2 separate regions of the Homo sapiens genome follow, and region 1 is linked to region 2. The links are contacts of gene promoters, found by promoter capture Hi-C in blood cells and fetal thymus (Javierre and others, 2016). All regions are on one chromosome and are shown on one strand. Each heading gives the region's core, a stretch centred on a gene start or on the middle of the fragment in contact. The rest is flanking DNA. Distances are from core to core; before and after follow the strand shown.

Region 1 (7,024 bases), core at 2,873-5,372, 250 kb before region 2:
TCCACGTACTACATTCATGTTATCAAAAATATGTCAGGAGATTACTGTGTTGTTGGCCCCATGGTGTAATGGTTAGCACTCTGGACTTTGAATCCAGCGATCCGAGTTCAAATCTCGGTGGGACCTACCAAACTTTTAGTGCTCTTTCTTTCTCTCAAATTACCATTGTACCCAGAGGAGCGTACACCTGATCACTTAAGCACCTTAACATCCCATCCCAGTCGGCAGCACGATGCTTTCCTGCAGAACAGCATCCTCTAATCTTTCACCTGGAATTTCACATCTGTTCTCTCTTGCCCCTCCTCTCTTGTTGGATGCGAGTTCCTCGGATTTAAATTATCATACGCAAGTTTAAGGATACGTCTTTCACCTACCAGACCTCAGTTCTTTCCTTTTTTGAACAATACTCAAACGGGTTCAAGTTTTTTCAGTTTCTAAGACGGACTTGGTCCAGATAGGTTTGTAGTGCATGTGAGTCTCTTGGAGCTTCTGCTACATGGGATGCAGATAGTATTAATTTAATAAATATTAATAGAATACTGCATCGAATAGACATGCTCTGTAATCAGTATTTTTATAAATTCATGAAATTGGTGGCGGAAGGCGGCCCCATGGTGTAATGGTTAGCACTCTGGACTTTGAATCCAGCGATCCGAGTTCAAATCTCGGTGGGACCTGTCCTGCTTTTTGTGACCCATCCTTCGTTCGTCTCTTAAATCATCAACACACAGCGATCTGTGGATTTACTTTCTCATTCACGGTTTCTTCTTCGGATTAGCAAGTGTCATGTAACTCCTGACTGTCATTTCTAGCTTCTGAGTAGTATCATGTCCTTGTACATTCTTGGTCTTTTCTCTTAGCATCCACACTTCCCTGAGTTCCCAAAGGCAGCCAGGGTGTTATTTGAGTGCTCAGGGTGCTTAATGGTTTATGTGTCAGAGGTCCCTCCCGCGAATGTTTTCTTCTTTGGAAGCCCCTCAAAATGCAAGGATTTACATAAGAATTATAGTAGCAAGTGCCCCATGTAAGGGTCCCATAGTATATCGGTTAGCACTCGGGATGCTGAATCCAGGAATTTGAGTCCAAATCTCTTTGGGATTTTAGCAACATCTTGGTCAATGTTCCTCTGTGGTTCTCTTAAATCATTAGCCCACCTTCGAGGTGTACCCACTTGGCTGCAAGCGCTGCCAATCATCATGGCACTCTGTCCTAGAGAAAACTGTCTCTATCTACTGACCTCTGAAATTTTAGCCCTACTCCTATTTTACTTGATGTCTCTTTTTGCCTTTTTGCCCAGAGTTTCTCAGATTCTGGTAAGTTAGAATCTTGGCCCCAGTGATTAAGAGTTTGTTTTACAGCCCCCAATCTCAGTTTCTTCCTTTTCTAGAGCCTATTTAAAGCGTCCCATCTGCTTCTAAGCACTAACACTGTCCTTAAAATGTTTGGACTGCACAGCACTGCAGTTGTACACATCTTAGAGCCTCTGCCGTTTGTACTCAGTTGGGGCGCCATCCAAACTCCTTAAGCTAATGCATTGTCCACATTATTTGAAAGATTAGCTGGTATGTTAAAAGTACACATCAGTCTTTCAGTAGGGATTCAATTTCCATGTCCTGGTGACTTAATGGCTAGCACCTAGGCTTCAAATTTCAGTGGACCTGTCTCAGTTTTGGTGACCTTGCTCTTGAGTTTACCCAAATGGAGAAGCACACTTGGGCATGTATAGATAGTCTCACATATTTGCACTTCTTTTCTGGAGCAACATCCCGCTTCTTGCTCTTTTCTCTGGCTACTGAAAGTTGTCCACTGCCCATCACCCTCATGTATCCTAGAAGCTCTTCTTTTGAAAGCTTTGCTTTGCTTTGCTGGAGCCTGAAGTCAGTTAGACCACTGTAAGTTAATCATCTGCTGGGATGAGTAAAGGTTCATGTGTCAGAGGCCCCACCTATGACTTTTTTCTTCTTCAGAGCTCACTCCGAATGCTCTCTATGCTATCTCTGGACTCGGGCATGAATATGTGCAAACCACAAATTGAGTCATCTGAGAACCTGCATTTTTCTCCCTATGAGAAGCTATTAGTGTTCCTTACATTGAATCTATGCCCATTTTAAAGGTTAACTGACCAGATGCAATAGTATACAAGTCTTCCCTAGAACCTTTGTTATACAAAGATACCATGGTATAACGGTTAACACTCTGGACTCCAAATACAGAAATCCCAACTGTTGGTGGGACTCTAAATTCCTTCTGTTGACTCTCTCTACAGTTCAAAACATATCCTCCAGGGCTCTCAATGACAACAAAAGTGAGCTCCATGAACTCCTCTGGCCTCTAAAAATTGTTCCAGAAAAAAGCCCTGTAGACTTCTTTCTGCCTGTTTAGCCCTATTCATGGTACTATCTTAGTGGCTTTTTATTAGCTTCCTATTGCTTACCACAAATTTGGTGGTTTAAGACAATATGAATTTATTTTTTGTTATTTATTTATTTGTTTTTGAGACAGAGTCTTGCTCTGTCGCCCAGGCTGGAGTGCAATGGCACAATCTCATCTCACTGCAACCTCCACCTCCCGGGTTCAAGACATTCTCCTGCCTCAGCCTCCTGAGTAGCTGGGATTACAGGCACCCGCCACAAAGCCCGGCTAATTTTTTGTACTTTTAGTAGGGACGGGGTTTCACTATGTTGGCCAGGCTTGTCTCGACCTCCTGACCTTGATCTGACCGCCTCAACCTCCCAAAGTGCTGGGGTTACAGGCGTGAGCCACCGCATCCGGCCTATTTATTTTTTAAAATAGGGTCTTACACTATCACTCAGGCTGGACTGTAGTGGCACAATCATAGCTCATTGCAGCCTCAAACTCCTGGGTTCAAGTAATCGTTCCCTGTCAGCCTCCCAAGTAGCTAGGACTGCAGGTGCACACCACCATCCCTGGCTAAGACAACGTGAATTAAATGTTTTTTTGCAGTTTTGGATATCAGAAGTCTACAATAAAAGTATTAGCAGGGCTGTGTATCTTCTGGAGACATCATGAGATAATTCATTTTCCTGGCGTTTTCAGCTTCTAGTGGCCCCTTCCTTGCATCACTTCTTGCTTCTGTAGTCACATTTTCTTTTCCTGACTCTGAACCTCCTGCCTTCCTTTTATAGGACCCTCTTGATTACATTGGACCCACTTAGATAATCCAAGATAATCTCCCCATCTCAAAATCTTCAATGAAATCCCATCTGCAAAATTCCTTTGACCACTTAAGGTAACATAAGGTAACTTATTCACAGGTTCTGGTGATTGGTTGTGGACCTATTTTGGGGGTCATTATTTAGCCTACCATACCCTTTATTAATAAATAGCAGGCATTTGTTAATGCTCTTTAGATTTAATCTATTGGTCATGGCTTTTTTAAAAAAGATAATGTATAGATTTACACCAAGCTTATACACAAGTCTTTCAATAGGAGAATCTTATGGAAAGGGTCTATGATGTAATGATTAGCATCTGAACTCAGACTTGGCAAATTTATGGCAATGATGTCTTGTATTTTTACATTCTCAACTATACTCCCTTTCAGCCATAGGATCCACTGCTCTCTGGCTGATCAGGCCTTCCTGCATGTATTAGTTATCTGTTGTATAACAAATTGCACCCAAATTGGCAGCTTAAAACAACAGACACATATCTCACATGAGATATCATGAAAGTAATATCCTATCACATTTTTTATATTCTGTAGGTTAGGAGCAGGTCACTAGATCCAGCCAACATTCAAAGGGAGGAGTTTACACAGGAAGTGTGGCCACCACACTGTTAAACACTGTAAAGACCTCAGGGCAGAATAAGCCCTAATTGGAGCTGGTCTAATGCTATGACTGATATTTTGCAGACACCTTCTTTTGCTTGGTCAGGAAGTGCTGTATTGGGAGCAATTCCTGGTACCTTTTGGATTGGGAAAATTATCTCTTGCCTCACCTTTTTAAAACTAGTTTTCCATTGTGTATCTTCCTTTATGATCAAGCCAGTATTGAAGAGCTTGACTGCTACTCTCTTTTAATATCATGACTGAACAAGTGAATTAGAATCTATAGGGATAATGCCCTGACATGAATCCTTCTCAAAAGTTCCCTATGGATTCAAATGTGCAGCATGGAAAACCACTGAGCTAATTTTCCCCTGACCACCCTATTTAACTTGCCACCACTCCTATGCATATACCATCCTCTGACATACTGTGTATTTTGCTTTTTTTTTTTTGGTGAGACAAGGTCTCACTTTGCCATCCAGGCTGGAGTGCAGTGGTGCAATCTTGGCTCACTGAACTTCGACCTCCTGGGTTCAAGCGATCCTCCCTCCTCAGCCTCCTGAGTAGCTGGGACTACAGATGTGCACCGCCACGCCCAGCTAATTTTGGTATTTTTTGTAGAGATGAGGTTTCACCATGTTGCCTAGGCTGGTCTCAAACTCCTGAGTTCAAGGAATCTGCCTGCCTTGGCTTTCCAAAGTGCTATGATTATAGGTGTGAGCCACTGTGCTTGGCCTATATTTTGCTTTATAAGTTGTTTATTGCTTATTTCTACATAATTAGGTTTCACCAGGGCAGGGAATTTTGTGTGTGGCATATACATTTGTTCTTAGAACAATGCCTGGAACATACGCAATGCTCAATAAATATTCATCAAAACATTGAATGAATCAAAGAACTAATGAACCCTTCAGGTCCAGGTTTGTTTATCATGCTTTATAATTTCTAATCCAAACACAATCAAGACCAAGCAATAGTTTTTCTTTTCAGAACACTTTAGAATTTGTTGCTAACTGAAGCTTTAAAAAAATGAAAATTCGTACATTTCCTGGCCTGCTATGTTTTGATGGTGATTTGATACCTAATATGTCTGATATTTGTTAGGTAATTCCTTGGTAACTCCCTAGGGGATACAGTTTGAATCTTGATCATATTCTTAATTGCTTTGCTTTGCTTTGCTTTGCTTTTGAGACAGGGTCTTACTCTGTCACTCTGTTACCCAGGCTGGAGTGCAGTAGTGTGATTATGGCTTGATGCAGCCTCGCCCTCCCAGGCTCAGCTGATCCTCTCAACACAGCCTTCCAAGTAGCTGGGACTACAGGCACCAGCCACCACACTCGGTTAATTTTTTGTATATTTTGTGGAGTCGGGGTTTCGTCATGTTGCCTAAGCGATCCTCCAGCCTTGGCCTCCCAAAGTGCTGGGATTACAGGTGTGAGCCACTGTGCCCGGCCTTATTTTTTTAATGCTACATCATGTCAAAACACACACATACACAATATTATTGTTTTTGTAATTTTATTGGGTATAGGTGAGAAAACAGCCCCTGGTATCCAGGAACTGGTCTGACCGTATTCACTAGGCCTGCATATTGTCAGGAATCGGCCAGGCAGTCACTGCTAAGTCATGGGGTTCTTCTGTTTTGCCTAATTTCACAGAACATTAGCATCAGACTGACTTCTCTGATTGTGATGAAATGAGTCAGAAACAACCAAAGAAAGGTTGGACATGGTGGCTCATGCCTGTAATCCCAGTACTTTGGGTAAACCAAGGTGGGTGGATTGCTTGAGCCTAGGAGTTTGAGGCTAGCCTGTGCAACAGAGTGACATAGTGAGACCCTGTCTCTATAAAAATAAATTTATTTTTTTAATTTAGAATTTAAATGAAATACAAACAGATAATAAAAATGACAACACTAAGTATCATTTTCATCACATTTCTTTGTGCAAAATAAGCAAAAACAAAACAAAAATCCCTCAGATGGCCCCACGATTCTTTAAGATACAGTCCAAACTCTAGGGTCTGACACTCAGAACCAATCACAATTTGACTGTAACCCATCACTTCAACACTTTACCAGTCACCCACTTGGGCTTCTAGGAGAGACAATGGTTATTTCTCAGATGCGTTAGTGCCATCATATGGCAGGCATCCCTCTGGGAATCCTACCAGGGAGTGTCCAGGAATGCAACAACAGACATACCTGGTTTAATGATGGTGTTCATATACATGACCTAAGAAAAAAGACAAAATCCAATTTGATTTAAAAAACAGGAGCAGTCACTAATTCGTTTTTCCTTTTTAATTTCTCTTATTTTTCCCTTAGAAAGTGTACTTTGTCATCTTTATTAGGGTCTATTCCTCCCTCCCAGTCTCCTCTTTAGTTTTTCTTCCTTTATGAGAGTAAGAGGGCCATTTATCCATTATTTCCGTCACTGAAAACATTTAACAAAAGAATAGGAATTGCCAAATGAAACTGTTGAGAAGAGAAACATTACACATATCAGGAGAGGCCTGGCCGAGTGGTTAAGGCGATGGACTGCTAATCCATTGTGCTCTGCACGCGTGGGTTCGAATCCCATCCTCGTCGCTCGGCTTTCCCTGCTAACTGGGCTTTTTTAAAGGTTTCCCCTCAGTAAGGTATCGTCTGCTATACCTCCCCGTTTGCTCACTGAGAATTAGGTGTTTTTAGCTCCCTTTAAGAGAGGTATTCTTCAGTATGTATTAGCACACTAACGTGTGCTGGCACTAACAACCTTCTGTTGGTAACATGATTACTGATTCTATTTTATAAAGGTCCGAAAAATTACAGTATTTTAGCTCCGCTCCCTCCGCGCAGGCAGAGGTGTATCCACCGCTGCTCCAGATCCGCAAGACTCTTGTAGTTGAAAACTGATTTCCGACCCTCTGATTTTTTGCTTAACCCCCTGAGTAGCGCCTAGCATTTCTCCTTATCTAGCTGTGATCCGGTGGTTGTTAATTATACATAACTGGGGAGATTTCTCAAAATGCTCGTGTCTCCTCCTCTCCCCTAGAACCAGTTAAATCGAAATCTTTAGAGGGGTGGAGTCTAGTGGTCGTTTTGCAAGTGCCTTGGGTCTCCCGGGTTAAGAACCATCACTGTCCTCACTTCCTTCTTAGTTTTGGTTTCGCTGTTTCGGCAGTTTTCATCATGAATGTGTAATCATAAGGAATTGGGCCTGGCGCAGTGGCACACGCCTGCAATCCTTG
Region 2 (6,497 bases), core at 3,543-6,042:
TTCATTAATTGGTGAGTCAGGAAAAAACAGCTTTAAATCATTCAAAGTTCTGGCCTATACAGGATTTAGTAATATTAGGTTAGCTACATCCAAAAGATGACAGAACCCTACTCTAAGGCTGGGCTTGGTGGTTCACACCTATAATCTCAAAACTTTGGGAGGCTGAGGCAGGAGGATCACTTGGTGCCAAGAGTTTGAGACCAGCCTGAGCAACATAGTGAGACCCCTGTCTCTATCAAAAACAAAGAACTCTAATTGGCATAGTAGAAGGAAAAAGTGAAAGAAAAACCAGCTGTCACCCTCATTCCTTACACCTGTCCTAACAACTCCTCTCACTATCCTTTGAATATATCTTGGCTGTTTGAGTCTCTCTCTAGCCCCATTACTGCTGTTTGGACTTGACATTTTGCTCTGCATTTTTAACTTTTCTACCAGGGTTTCCAGACCCTGAAGAGTGTGGCATGAAACAAAACTAGTCAACCTATAATATTTATGATGTGTGTGTAAATAAAAGAATACACAATATATTGCATTACAATATTTTAACTGTGTCCTCAATTTGTTTGTGGCTTTCTTGAGGACATCAGTTTTGGGTGGGACGACCACATCCTTAATCTGAACTTTCCCTTGGAGGTCATTCTTTTTTTTTTGAAATAGAGTCTCGCTCTGTCACCCAGGCTGGAGTGCAGTGGCGCAATCTCAGCTCACTGCAACGTCCGCCTCCTGGGTTCAAGTGATTCTCCTGCCTCAGCCTTCCAAGTAGCTGGGATTACAGATGCACGCCACCATGCCGAGCTAATTTTTGTATTTTTAGAAGAGACGGAATTTCACCATGTTGGTCAGGCTGGTCTTAAACTCCTGACCTCATGATCTGCCCACCTCAGCCTCCTAAAGTGCTGGGATTACAGGCGTGAGCCACCCCGCCCGGCCAGAGGTCATTCTAATAGACTTTTTTTTTGTTGTTGCTCACAGGCTTGTTCAATCTTATTTCAAAATTTGAGAAATACAGTTTCCATGGAACACCAACCAGATATCAGGTTGCTATGGAGTTGATAGTCAAAAGCTTTGTATCTTCCAGTTTTTCAGAATGGCTTCTAAAGGTTCTGATTCAGAGCTCTTAGGCGAAATTGAACAACCAAGTGTCAAAGTACAACATTCAGGAAGTTAAAAACATGACTGACATATATGTACTATATATAGTGAGCTTGTGTATGTGTCAATGAATGATTTAATTCATTAATGAAGGAGGAAGCAGAATCACAATTAGGTCAAAGGAAGATACGGGAGAATAAAATATGTATTTGGTCAGGGAAAGGATGTATACTGGAAGAGGAAGGGAAAATCAGATATAAAGTTGTTTAATGACTTATTAGGCAATACAATAATAACTTTTAGGGTCATTTTTTCTATATTAAGAATTCATTTCCATCTCTATGACAAAATCCTTATTAATTTATTAAACTTCTACAAGTGAATGTTTACTTTTAGATAGTCTGGACCCAATAAAATGTAAACATTAAGTCAGAGTTACTTTCACGTAGGACAGTGTTGTCCAATAAGGTACCACTAGCTACACGTGATCATTGACCATTTGGACTATAGCTAGACTGATTTAAAATGTTCTAAAAGTGTAAAATACACACCAGGTTCTGAAGATTTATCATTTAAAAAAGAATGTCAACTGTCTTTTTTTTTAGCTTATTTATTATATGTTGAAGTGATAATAGTTTAGATATATTAAGTTAAATAAAATATCTTAAAATTAATTTTACTTGTTTCTTTTCATTCTTTCAATGTGACCACTAGAAATCTGGAAAGTATTTATGTGATTCACATTCTATTTTACTGTCTAGTATTGCCTTACATCATCAGGTACCCCATAAGTAGGCTTTTTAGATAATTCTCTAATATAGCTTGGAAGGATATGGAGAAATATTTTTGCGTTGCTTTTAAGTTTTGCATAACTTTTTCAACACACTTTATAAAGGATCTAGAAAAGGGTTGGTTACATGTTTCTCTGTCTTCTGGCCTCCACCATGTTGCCAGGAGGTTGGGGACAAGATTCTGGGTGGCTGGATGTCCTAATGGCTTGAGGTCTGGACTTGAGATTTGCATATAAAGAGATGTGATTAGATTGAGTCGACTAGAAAAATCATATTAGAGAACTGAATCACAGCGATTAAATTTACATGTCGATTTATAAACCAGGACACCAATTTATAGTGAAAGAAGGTCCAGTTACCTGGTAATCAAGACGTTTCATAGCTATTTTCATGATGGATATACTTAGCTGAGTTTTAAATGAGAAGGGGGTTCATTGCACATAGAATAAGATCTAAGTGAAATGTTTATTTTATTTTTTTTTTTTTGACATGGAGTCTTGCTCTGTTGCCCAGGCTGGAGTGCAATGAGGCAATCTCGGCTTCTGGAGTGCAATGAGGCAATCTCGGCTTCTGGAGTGCAACGAGGCAATCTCGGCTCACTGCAACCTCCACCTCCCGGGTTCAAATGATTCTCCTGCCTCAGTTTCCTGAGTAGCTGGGATTAGAGTTGCCTGCCACCACGCCAGGCTAATTTTTGTATTTTTTTTAGTAGAGATGGGGTTTCACCATGCTGGCCAGGCTGGTCTCGAACTCCTGACCTCAGGCGATCTGCCCGCCTCAGCCTCCCAAAGTGCTAGGATTACAGGCGTGAGCCACCAAGCCTGGCCTAAGTGACATGTTCTTATATTGTTCCTTTCTTTCTTTTTTTTTCGACTGAGTCTCACCCTGTTGCACAGGCTGGAGTGCAGTGGCGTCATTTCGGCTCATTGCAACCTCTGCTTCCCGGGTTCAAGCGATTCCCTTGCCTCAGCCTCCTGAGTGCCACCACCCCCAGCTAATTTTTGTACTTTTAGTAGAGATGGTGTTTCACCATGTCGGCTAGGCTGATCTCAAACTCCTGGCCTCAGGTGATCCGCCCCCGAGTCTCCCAAAGTGCTAGGATTACAGGCGTGGGCCACGGGGCCCAGCCTTATATTATTTCTTTTACTACAATATATTAGTATGATGCAGGTGCTTCAATTGTTTATACACTTTCCATAATTTTGTATAATTCTTATACCCTGTCACTCTGAGGAATAGCCGGTCTAAGTGTTTTTCCACCACTGCTAATTCATCCATCACTAATCTCATTAGACTGTTAATTCCCAGAGGACATAAGCACACAAGCAGACAATGTTTACAAATGTTGGACAAATGTTATTTAATAAAACAATGGGGTCACCCTTAGTCTAAAAGATGTTTCACTTTTCATTTGTCATTGAACTCTTATTTGTAGGTTCCCTTTTGACTTTCCCACAATCTAAGGCTGTTCTCTTTAACACATATTTTCATGAAAACATATATTTGAGCAGAAATTGTTGGGGAGTTGTAATATTACCTTTGTCCCTAAATATGAATCTATAATTATATCAAATATATGGGCAGACAATTTACTTTGCCTTTAATCTCAAGAAAAAAATAGCAATTACTTGGGGTCGGAGAGTAAAATAAGAAGTAGTGAACCTTAAAGTAGCAAACTTTAGAACAGAATAGTTTCAGAGGGGATGAGAAGAGGTGATTTTTCAGCTCATCAACAACAGATCTTATAATAAATTACATGTTCTGGTACTTTTCTTGTCTTTCTGTGTTAAATTTTGCTATTTAAAAAAATAAATTTCAAATACATTGTTCATCTTAAAAGTCAAGAGTGTGTTTTATTAAAGTCAGTTGCTTTATTTGCAACTCAAAAGATATATTTGAGTTCCCAACTGGAGATTGTCCTATATGGTAACTTGCGTAAGGTATGGTTACTGAAAGTAACCTACAATTTTCATGGGCTGAAATTCATTTCTATATTGCAGCGTACAAAAATAAATAAATAAAAAATGCTTGTTTTCTTTGAAAACATATTATCTCAGTGCCTCTAACTGCCAAATCTATTGGCTTTTTTGCAGGCTTAAGGGCTCTCCCTTGTTCCTTTATGATCTCTATCTTGAGGGCCAGACCTCCTGCCTTACACAACTCAGAGGGGGACCTCAGAGCTCTTTAAAAAGAGCCCAATTTCTCGCCTGTAGAGAAGTGAAAAGGATGCCCCACCCCCATCTATGAAAAGAGGGATTTGATAGTTTCAATGTCTTCAAATCAAAGATTTAAGTCTGTAGCCCCCCACCACCCCGGACCCTAGCAAGGCTCATGAACCCCCTCCCATCCCGCCCTAATTGCTTTGGACTGGCCGTGGAATCCTTGTCCCAGTCCACAGTTCCTGTGCGACTGCACGAAGAATTCACAGAGGACCTGTGTTACTTCCCTTGTGAAGAAACAGAATTATCATGAAAATTTAGGTGGAAACCATTTCGCTTTTTTCTTCAAAAATAAGGGAAGCATGTGCCCAACCACCCCTGGGAAAAAGAACCTTCAGGGGCAAAGGAGCGAACAGGTAATTTATAAGAAAAACAGAAAGTGGTCTCTGACTGCCCCAGACTTCCTTCGGAGTTGGGGGAATTGGGGACGCCTGGACGCGTTGTTTTTGTGTTTGTGGAAAAAATAAATGAAGAGCATGAAGCCCGAGGCTTCTGAGATCCTTTCCTGACCAAACCCAAGTGATTTGGTGCGGGGAATTTTAATATTTTTCCCCTTTTGTGAGGTGGAACAAACACAACTTGGGAGCAGCGCAGCGGCTCAGAGCCTGCCAGCCAGGCGGGCGACCAGAGCACCAATCAGAGCGCGCCTGCGCTCTATATATACAGCGGCCCTGCCCAGGCGCTGCTTCATCGGCGCTTTGCCACTTGTACCCGAGTTTTTGATTCTCAACATGTCCGAGACTGCTCCTGCCGCTCCCGCTGCCGCGCCTCCTGCGGAGAAGGCCCCTGTAAAGAAGAAGGCGGCCAAAAAGGCTGGGGGTACGCCTCGTAAGGCGTCTGGTCCCCCGGTGTCAGAGCTCATCACCAAGGCTGTGGCCGCCTCTAAAGAGCGTAGCGGAGTTTCTCTGGCTGCTCTGAAAAAAGCGTTGGCTGCCGCCGGCTATGATGTGGAGAAAAACAACAGCCGTATCAAACTTGGTCTCAAGAGCCTGGTGAGCAAGGGCACTCTGGTGCAAACGAAAGGCACCGGTGCTTCTGGCTCCTTTAAACTCAACAAGAAGGCAGCCTCCGGGGAAGCCAAGCCCAAGGTTAAAAAGGCGGGCGGAACCAAACCTAAGAAGCCAGTTGGGGCAGCCAAGAAGCCCAAGAAGGCGGCTGGCGGCGCAACTCCGAAGAAGAGCGCTAAGAAAACACCGAAGAAAGCGAAGAAGCCGGCCGCGGCCACTGTAACCAAGAAAGTGGCTAAGAGCCCAAAGAAGGCCAAGGTTGCGAAGCCCAAGAAAGCTGCCAAAAGTGCTGCTAAGGCTGTGAAGCCCAAGGCCGCTAAGCCCAAGGTTGTCAAGCCTAAGAAGGCGGCGCCCAAGAAGAAATAGGCGAACGCCTACTTCTAAAACCCAAAAGGCTCTTTTCAGAGCCACCACTGATCTCAATAAAAGAGCTGGATAATTTCTTTACTATCTGCCTTTTCTTGTTCTGCCCTGTTACTTAAGGTTAGTCGTATGGGAGTTACTGAGGTATCAGACGAATTGGGTGACGGGGTTGGAGAGTGGCCGTGGTGAGGTTACAGCATTTAAACCTTTATTGCGGCTTCTAGGTCCCTGACCGGAGGCTTTTCTCGCTGGCGGATGGTTTTGGGATGGCAGTCCCGCCCCAGGCCTGTGAACGGCAGAAAAGACCGCAAAACAAGAGCCAGTTTCTTAGTCTAAAGGGATGTCCGGATTGGACTAAAAAATTTTCAAAAGTCCCGCCCTGCTCCCGGGTTGGTCCGTTCTTCTAGTACATGACTTTCATTCTGTATTTAATTGGATGGTGGAAGACGTTGCTTATTCTGTGTTTTTTGCTTTACTGTGACTTAAAAGTTTTGCCTCTTTTCTCTTTATATTAATGTCTGGGATTTCGGACGCTTTCCATGTTGTTGGTAGTCAAGTTGATGTCTCCTGGAGGTAGTGGCAACATCCAGCCCTGGGAGGAGAGTGCGTGCAGGTACCTTTGTCCTACATTCCTCTGCTGTTAATTTCTCATTCCTGTGGCAACGAAGGAATGCATTTAAAAAACAGCCACAACAGCGGCAATAGCCCTTCCTCCACCCAAGGCAATCGTGGACCTAGGGAGTTTTTTGTGCCACATAACATGTAGCCTTCCGCTAAACTGACAGGTTTGAGCGTATCGATTTTGAGCGTATCGAAAGCACAACTTTTAGCCAGCCATTTTGTCCTCGCATGACTACGGTTGCTTATCCTGTTTAGACAGACAGCAACATTTAAAAATCGAAGTTCCTTTAAACGTATTTTGTTTGGCAGTCCAAATGTTTCTATGCAGAAAACAGTATTTGTACTATTAACTATGAAGAGTGTATGGATAAATGGGAGACATTTCTAATAAAGGCCTTCGTTAA

What was found. Contacts are between HindIII fragments. The CHiCAGO score rates a contact against its expected background, and 5 or more counts as called.
Region 1: a contact is called between a fragment that was not itself captured here and the fragment with the promoter of H1-2 in region 2, in 2 of 17 cell types (monocytes and neutrophils). The highest score is 6.4, in monocytes.

Annotation. Positions count from the first base shown.
Region 1 is chr6:26,304,849-26,311,872 of GRCh38, reverse strand. TRS-GCT6-1 (tRNA-Ser (anticodon GCT) 6-1) reads left to right here and starts at 6,300; the gene lies at 6,300-6,383. TRQ-TTG3-1 (tRNA-Gln (anticodon TTG) 3-1) reads left to right here and starts at 606; the gene lies at 606-677. It overlaps TRQ-TTG3-2 (tRNA-Gln (anticodon TTG) 3-2), which reads left to right and starts at 55; the gene lies at 55-126. RefSeq lists silencers at 79-128, 559-608, 6,288-6,477, cis regulatory regions at 595-814, 1,903-2,017 and an enhancer at 6,558-6,877. The HindIII fragment of the contact is 1,384 bases long and covers 3,431-4,814 here.
Region 2 is chr6:26,054,765-26,061,261 of GRCh38, reverse strand. H1-2 (H1.2 linker histone, cluster member) reads left to right here and starts at 4,792. Exons shown (of 1, transcript NM_005319.4): 1 at 4,792-5,522. The coding sequence starts at 4,834. The coding sequence ends at 5,475. RefSeq lists enhancers at 4,740-5,139, 5,230-5,279, 5,690-6,311 and a silencer at 5,770-5,839. The HindIII fragment of the contact is 9,556 bases long and covers 1,066-6,497 here.